Linked DNA regions of Homo sapiens: regions 1 and 2 are each linked to region 3. Evidence: promoter capture Hi-C in human tissues and cell types (Jung and others, 2019). All regions are on one chromosome and are shown on one strand. Each heading gives the region's core, a stretch centred on a gene start or on the middle of the fragment in contact. The rest is flanking DNA. Distances are from core to core; before and after follow the strand shown.

Evidence for each region. The method cuts DNA at HindIII sites, captures the fragments that hold promoters and counts their contacts. A contact is called where the count stands out against the background at its distance.
Region 1: the fragment with the promoter of MAP2K2 here is called in contact with a fragment that was not itself captured in region 3 in 1 of the 25 tissues and cell types used here (dorsolateral prefrontal cortex).
Region 2: the fragment with the promoter of FEM1A here is called in contact with a fragment that was not itself captured in region 3 in 2 of the 25 tissues and cell types used here (dorsolateral prefrontal cortex and spleen).

What each region holds. Positions count from the first base shown.
Region 1 is chr19:4,122,832-4,125,595 of GRCh38, forward strand. MAP2K2 (mitogen-activated protein kinase kinase 2) reads right to left here and starts at 1,291. Exons shown (of 11, transcript NM_030662.4): 1 at 953-1,291. The coding sequence starts at 1,044. RefSeq lists silencers at 884-1,133, 1,324-1,443. The HindIII fragment of the contact is 9,633 bases long and covers 1-2,764 here.
Region 2 is chr19:4,790,319-4,793,101 of GRCh38, forward strand. It overlaps FEM1A (fem-1 homolog A), which reads left to right and starts at 1,416. Exons shown (of 1, transcript NM_018708.3): 1 at 1,416-2,783. The coding sequence starts at 1,537. It overlaps LOC124904620 (a long non-coding RNA gene), which reads right to left and starts at 974. Exons shown (of 2, transcript XR_007067103.1): 1 at 880-974. RefSeq lists enhancers at 1,069-1,726, 1,237-1,506, 1,727-2,383, 2,037-2,096, 2,384-2,783. The HindIII fragment of the contact is 32,697 bases long and covers 1-2,783 here.
Region 3 is chr19:4,414,912-4,417,611 of GRCh38, forward strand. All of the region lies in intron 3 of CHAF1A (chromatin assembly factor 1 subunit A), which reads left to right. Among named protein-coding and RNA genes, the nearest start is that of CHAF1A, 14 kb to the left of the region's middle. The HindIII fragment of the contact is 3,051 bases long and covers 1-2,700 here.

The sequences.
Region 1 (2,764 bases), core at 41-2,540, 290 kb before region 3:
TTCCCACAGGGACCTCCCTTGGCCCTATCTCATTATTGAGGGACCCTTACCCCGTCTTTTCCTACCAGGGACCCTACCCCATCTCAGTCTCATTACTCAGGGACCCCTCACCCCATCCTCTCCCCTCTGGAGCCCCCTTGCCCAGATTTCCTCCTCAGGGGCTGCCTGACCTCCCCACACCCCATCCTCTCCTCTCAGGAATGCCCTGCACCCCGATTTCCCTACTCAGGGTCTCCCCTCACCCTCATCTCATGACTACGGCAACCTTTACTCCGTCCTTTCCTCTTAGGAACTCTTCACCCTCATTTCACTACTCAAGGACCCCACACTGTGTTCTCTCCTCTTAGAGATACCCCTCACCCCGATCTCACTGCTTGGGGAGCCTCATCCTGTTCTCTCCTTGGGGACACCCCTCATTCCGATTTTCCTACTGAGGGACTCCCCTCACCCCAGCTTCACTTTTCAGAAGCCCCACACCCCATCTTCTGCACTGCAGGGACCTCCCCTCACTCAACCTCGCTGCTCAGGGACCCCTGTCCCCATCCTCTCCTCTTAGAGACATCCTTCACCCCAACTTCACTACTCAGAGACTCCCGTTATCCCAATTCCACTCTTCAGGAACCCCACACCCCATCTTTTCCACCACAAGGACCTCCCCTCGCCCAATCTCACTGCTCAAAGACCCCCCTGCCCCGTGCACCCTTCGCCCCGTCCTCCGAGGGCCCCCTGCCCCGTCCTCCCCCGAGGGCCCCCTGCCCCGTCCTCCCCCGAGGGTCCCCTGCCCTGTCCTCCCCTCGAGAACCCCCTGCCCCGTGCACCACTCACCCCGTCCTCCCCCGTGACCCCCCTGCCTCGTGCACTCCTCGCGAACCCCCGTCCCCTCGCCCCGTCCTTCCCCGAGGGCTCCCTGCCCCGTGCACCCCAAGCCTCCGGCTGACCCCTGCCCACTCACTCGGAGGCGCCCTCGCTGGTAGGGGATGGGCCCTCGGCGATGGTAGGGTTGATGGTGAGCGCCGGCAGCACCGGCTTCCTCCGGGCCAGCATCGGGGCTCCGCGGGCCGGCGGCGGCGGCGCCTCTAGCCGGGGCCCATAGGGGGCGGGCCGGGAGCGGTCGGCGCCTACGCGAGCCCGGGGCTGCGGCCGCGGCCCAGGCCGGCGTCGGGGCGGCCGAGGGCGGGCGGCGCTGCGGGCCTGGGCCGAGGGTAGCCGAGGGGCGCTGGGGCTGAGGCGAGCGAGCCGCTACCGCTGCCGAGGCCCGAAGAAGGCTGACGCCGCAGCCCGAGTCCGAGAGGCAGGGGGAGGGGAGGGGCGGCCACAAGATCGCGGACCGGCTTCTCGCGATAACGGGATCGGGAGCCGCGATGGACCCCACCCCCAGCCGCCGCGCCTGCGCAGCAGCACAAGGCCGCCTTTCGGAGGGGAAAGGGGCGGAGACCGACGCGAGGCGGTGCCGGGACCGGGCGCCCTCGCTTGCCTTACCACGGCGCGTGTGCCCAAGCGCTTGGGGCATGAGGCGCGGGAGCAGGGGAGGAGACGGAGGGATGAAGGCTGGGGTGATGGTCGTGCACAGGTGGGCAGGGTAGCCAGACTCCTGAGAGCCTGTGGTGCCCCAGGCTGGGGCTGAGAGAACCCGTAAGACCCCAGAACAGTGGACGAGACCCACCCAGAGTCCATTTAATCTTTTTGGCAAGCGTGGACACACGCCCCTAGCCCCCACCGCCTTAGAGTGTCAGTTACTCCCCCTCCTTCATCAGAACAAGGCCACTCTAAAACATTTTTAAAATTTATTTTAATTGACAAATAAAATTGCATATATTACTATGCGCATGTTGAAACATTTTTATTATAAAATACACATAACATAAAACTTGTCATTTTAACCATTTCTAAATGCACAGCTCAGCGGCATTAAGCAACCACCACCACCACCATCTCCAGAATTTTCTCATCTTCCGAAACTGAAACACTGTCCCCTATGAAACCTCACTCCCTATCCCCCTCCCCAGCCCCTGGAACCCAACGTCGTACTTCCTGTGAATCTGATGATTCTAGGGACTTCATATGAGTAGGATCACACAGGTTTTGTCCCTTTGTGGCTGGCATATTTCACTGAGGGCCACGTCCTCAAGGTGCCTGTTGTAGCTGTGTTAGATCCACGTTGTAACCTGTGTTAGAATTTACCCACTTGACTACTCCGGGCATACTTCCAATCGGGTAGCCCTGCTCCAAAAAAGAGCAGAAAAAAAAAAAAAAAGAAAAATTTCCCTTTTTTTTTTTTTGAGACGGAGTCTCGCTCTGTCACCCAGGCTGGAGTGCAGTGGTGCGATCTCGGCCCACTGCAAACTCTGCCTCCCGGGTTCACGCCATTCTCCTGCCTCAGCCTCCCGAGTAGCTGGGACTACAGGTGCCCACCACCATGCCCGGCTAATTTTTTTGTATTTTTAGTAGAGACGGGGTTTCACCGTGTTAGCCAGGATGGTCTCCATCTCCTGACCTCGTGATCCACCCGCCTCGATCTCCCAAAGTGCTGGGATTACAGGCGTGAGCCACCGCACCCAGTCAGGATTTTCCTCCTTTTTAAGGCTGAATAATATTCTATTGTGTGCATGGACTATATTTTGCTTATCCATTTATCTGCCACTAGACACTTCGGTGAATCGTGCCGCTATGAACACAGATGTACAAATATCTGTTTGAGTCCTTGCCTTGAGTTCTTTTGGGTATATGTTCTGAAGAGGAATTACTGGATTATATGGTAATTCTA
Region 2 (2,783 bases), core at 166-2,665, 380 kb after region 3:
CCTCAGCCTCCCAAAGTGCTGAGATTACAGGTGTGAGTCACCTTGCCCGGCCAAACCTGTCCTCTTTATTAAAAATGCATTTTATTGTATATATATTACACCTCGAATAAACTTTAAAAATAAAGAATTCGGGTCACCAAAGATTTCTTTTTCATAATATAATTCATTGTTGTCAAAAAATGCCAGGGAATGGATCACCTTACAACTGCTAGAATAGCTATCATCAAAAAGACGAAAGGTAACAAACGTTGGCAAGGATTTGAAGAGAACACTTATACACTACTGATGGTAATTTTAATTAGTATAGCCATTATAGAAAATGGTATGGAAGTTCCAAAGAAAAATTTAAAAATAAAACTACCAGGTGATCCAGGAATCCCACTTCTGGGTCTTTATCCAAAGGAATTGAAGTCAGCACGTCAGGCCGGGCATAGTGGCTCACGCCTGTAATTCTAGCACTTTGGGAGGCTGAGGCGGGCGGATCTCCCAAGGTCAGGAGTTCGAGACCATCCTGGCCAACATGGCGAAACCCGTCTCTACCAAAAATACAAAAATTAGCCGGGCGTGGTGGTGGATGTCTGTAGTCCCAGCTACTCGGGAGGCTGAGGCACGAGAATCACTTGAACCCGGGAGGCAGAGGTTGCAGTGAGCCGAGATTGCGGCATTGCCCTCCAGCCTAGGCAACAAGAGCGAGACGCTGTCTCAAAAACAAAAACCAAAACCAAAAAACCCCACAAAGTTATTGAAAGAAATAAATAAAAATAAATACGTAAATAAAAGAAGGAAATTCTGACACATACTAGAATATACATAAATGTATGTAAATGAATAAATGAATATATGAATGTGAGAATAAGAAGTGAGCGCGTCATTTTTTACCGTTCTCCCAGCTCAAAACGTTTTCGCCCCGTCCAGCTTTTCGGCCTCCTCCGGGCGCCCCCTGCCGGTGGGCCGCTTGCCCGTGCTCCAAGCCCAAAACAGACGCGTCCCCTCTAGTCGCTTTTAGCCTTCGGTCTCGGTCCTGATTGGCTCAGAGTCGCTCGTGATCCCTTTTGGGAAATGTAGTCCTTAAGGGTATCGCGCCTGCTTTTTCTATACGCTCTGACGCAGAGATAGCCACGGGAAGTACGTCACCAAATTTCGCCGGTTCCCACAAGCTAGGTCGTGTGACGCTGCATGACGGGAATTGTAGTCCTCAAATTGCTAGCTTCCGATGCCATGCGCTGCGACTGGAACGCCAATTCCCACCATGCCGCGCGCTCACAGCTCTCAGGGGCTGTCCTGTGGCCTTTGGGGAAGTGTAGTCTTGAGCCCCCAAGATTCCTTTTCTGTTCTATGGAGTGGGCCCGCGCAAAGGACTCCATTTCCCGGCGTGCTGCCATCCGTCGGGTCGCGGCAGCCATTTTGTTCCGCCCGAGGAGACCCTAAGATGGCGGCGAGGGGGACGGTGAAGGTTGCCTCCCGCCCGTCCGGGCTCTGATCCTCCGTCTCCCCGTCCCCCGGCGGCCGGCCCATGGCCTGGCGGAGGCCCGAACCATGGACCTCCGCACCGCCGTGTACAACGCCGCCCGTGATGGCAAGCTGCAGCTGCTCCAGAAGCTGCTCAGCGGCCGGAGCCGGGAGGAACTGGACGAGCTGACGGGCGAGGTGGCCGGCGGGGGAACGCCGCTACTCATCGCCGCCCGCTACGGCCACCTGGACGTGGTGGAGTACCTGGTGGACCGGTGCGGCGCGAGCGTGGAGGCCGGTGGCTCGGTGCACTTCGATGGCGAGACCATCGAGGGCGCGCCGCCGCTGTGGGCCGCCTCCGCAGCCGGCCACCTGGACGTGGTGCGGAGCCTGCTGCGCCGCGGGGCCTCGGTGAACCGCACCACGCGCACCAACTCCACGCCTCTCCGCGCCGCCTGCTTCGACGGCCACCTGGAGGTGGTGCGCTACCTGGTCGGCGAGCACCAGGCCGACCTGGAGGTGGCCAACCGGCACGGCCACACGTGCCTCATGATCTCGTGCTACAAGGGCCACCGTGAGATCGCCCGCTACCTGCTGGAGCAGGGCGCCCAGGTGAACCGGCGCAGCGCCAAGGGCAACACGGCCCTGCATGACTGCGCCGAGTCCGGCAGCCTGGAGATCCTGCAGCTGCTGCTGGGGTGCAAGGCCCGCATGGAACGTGACGGCTACGGCATGACCCCGCTGCTCGCGGCCAGCGTGACGGGCCACACCAACATCGTGGAGTACCTCATCCAGGAGCAGCCCGGCCAGGAGCAGGTCGCAGGGGGAGAGGCTCAGCCTGGGCTGCCCCAAGAAGACCCCTCCACCAGCCAGGGGTGTGCGCAGCCTCAGGGGGCTCCGTGCTGCAGCTCCTCCCCAGAGGAACCACTGAACGGGGAATCTTACGAAAGCTGCTGTCCCACCAGCCGGGAAGCTGCCGTGGAAGCCTTGGAATTGCTGGGAGCTACGTATGTGGATAAGAAACGAGATCTGCTTGGGGCCCTTAAACACTGGAGGCGGGCCATGGAGCTGCGTCACCAGGGGGGCGAGTACCTGCCCAAACCGGAGCCCCCACAGCTGGTCCTGGCCTATGACTATTCCAGGGAGGTCAACACCACCGAGGAGCTGGAGGCGCTGATCACCGACCCGGATGAGATGCGCATGCAGGCCCTGTTGATCCGGGAGCGCATCCTCGGTCCCTCGCACCCGGACACTTCCTATTACATCCGTTACAGGGGTGCCGTGTACGCCGACTCGGGCAATTTCGAGCGCTGCATCCGCTTGTGGAAGTACGC
Region 3 (2,700 bases), core at 40-2,539:
GGTTTTAGCGGCTTATCTGGTCTGGGCTTAGAAATTAGATACCCTTTAGTATAAAATCAGAGTCCATAGGCTCTGAGAGGATTATCTGAGAAAGGGTGCAGGAATTTTCATGCCCACACATAGTGAGCTCTGTCGCGACTCCTTGGGATTGTCGGTTTTTGTGTTTTGGCTTCCTTCTGGGATCCTGGATCACGTTTTTGGCAGTTGAGGGTGCTGTCTGACCGGGCTCCAGCTGGGTAGAATGTGGGAGTGTTGCATAGAATTTTGAGAGTGAGATCTATAAACACTTGGGTCAAATTTCAAGAAGATAAAGTTCTGTCAGACTTCAAGGTCCATCTGAGGGTTTGGCAAAGCAAAAAAGATACCAGTTTTAAATTAAGCAGTAATTGCTCTGTTTTGGTTGTTGGATATTACTGAGCGGGCTCTTGCCAGTCACATCAAGTCTGTTATCTCTGGACTCACAGCAGAGGGGGGGCATTGTAAGAGGCAGGAGATTCTGCAGCTGAGCTTCAGGCATGGGCAAGACTAAGGAACTGAATTCCCCGCCACCCCAAGACCACATTCCGTATTATAATCTCTGAACACAAAGGGCAGCCCCGGAGAGCTGCGGCTCCCATATTCTGCAGTTAAATCCCTCAGCGTGGGGGAGAGGCACACAGCCTTGGCAGGCAGAGTAGATGCTGGAGAGACAGATGCTTTTTCTGCAGCATTTGGTGAGGCTGCCTCGGGCTGGCATTTCTGTTGCCACATTCTCAGCAAAGACTGAACACCCTGGCCTGATCTCGGTGGTGAAAGAGCTCCTGCCAACACGGGCAGCCTTCTCACAACGGCTCGGCCTTTCCCTAAAGAAAGGTTTAGTCCAGAAAGGACTCAGTGGGACCCAGGTGGAAAGGCTGTCTTGAGCTCATTCATCTGAAGCTTTTATTCTGTGAGAGGTCCTAGTCAGGGGTTCAGCTTTCCCAGATAAAGAAATCACTGTTGGCCGGGCGCGGTGGCTCACGCCTTTAATCCCAGCACTTTGGGAGGCCGAGGCGGGCGGATCACGAGGTCAGGAGATCGAGACCATCCTGGCTAACATGGTGAAACCCCATCTCTACTAAAAATACAAAAAAATTACCCAGGCATGGTGGTGGGCACCTATAGTCCCAGCTACTGGGCAGACTGAGGCAGGAGAATCGCTTGAACCCGGGAGGCGGAGCTTGCAGTGATCCGAGATGGCGCCACTGCACTCCAGCCTGGGCGACAGAGCGAGACTCCGTCTCAAAAAAAAAAAGAAATCACTTACATAATTTTGTTGACCCCTCAGACCATTGCCAGGAAAATGGGCCTTTGGTTTTTCAGTCAACTTCAGTCTTACACTGCAAGTCTGCAATGAACCCGGAGAACTATTTCTTCCCACTCTTAAGCGTCTCTTCCCATTGCTCTTCACTTCTACTAGTTTGGTTTTCAGGATTCCCTGCCCCGGTGGGAGATAGCTTAGGCCAAAGTCCAGACTCCCTGTTCGTCTTCCTTCCTGGGACCATTTAGGTGGATGGTGAGTCACACCATGGATCCTATTGGTAATTCCTAGTAGCTCATGCTCAGTTTGAAGGTAGGTGATAGAAAATATTGTGCCCTAGAAGGTAGAAGTCCTAGAAAACCCCAGCAAGTTTCCCTTTTGTCTTAAGCTTTCACTCCACATTCTAAAAAGCAGAGTTGGCTGGGCGCGGTGGCTCACGCCTGAATTCCTAGCACTTTGGGAGGCGAGGCGGGTGGATCACCTGAGGTCAGGAGTTCGAGACCAGCCTGGCCAACATGATGAAACCCCTATCTCCACTAAAAATACAAAAATTAGCCAGGTGTGGTGGCACACGCCTATAATCCCAGCTACTCAAGAAGCTGAGGCAGGAGAATCGCTTGAACTTGGGAGGTAGAGGTTGCAGTGAGCCGAGATCGTGGCACTCGCTGCACTCCAGCCTCTGTGACAGGAGTAAGACTCCATCTCAAAAATAACATTAAAATAAAAAGCAGAGTTGAGCTAGACAGAATGTAAATTAGTGGTGCACAGGAAACCAGCCTGGAGACATGTTTTATTTGATTAATTTAGTATCTTTTTATTTTTTTTTTAGACAGTCTCACTCTGTCACCCAGGTTGGACAGCTCAGTGCAGCCTCAACCTCCCGGGCTCCTCCCACCCCAGACTCCTGGGTAGCTAGGACTACAGATGTGCACCACAACACCCGACTAACTAAAAGCTTTTTTTAGAGACAGGGTCTTGCTTTATTGCCCAGGCTGGTCTTGAACTCCTGGGCTCAAGTGATCCTCCCGCCTTGACCTCCCAAAGTGCTGGGATTACAGGCATGAGCCACTGTGCCCGTCTGTGTCCATTTTTAAACACCTAAAAAAATTCATATGAAATTCCTAATATCAGCTTCTCTTGGAGAAATTGGAAGGACCAGCAAATAGGGATCTATATTCCTGTAAGAACTCCATCTCCTTTGGACAGGCAGGTCCTCTCTCCTTTGCTACAAATCCATCCTCTCCCTGTCGCCCAGGCCAGCTGTCGCTTTTTTTTTTTTTTTTTTTTTAAGACAGAGTCTCACCCTGTTGCCCAGGCAGGAGTATGGTGGCGCAATCTCGGCTCACTGCAACCTCCTTCTCCTGGGTTCAAGCGATTCTTCTGCCTCAGCCTCCTGAGTAGGTGGGATTACAGGCACCTGC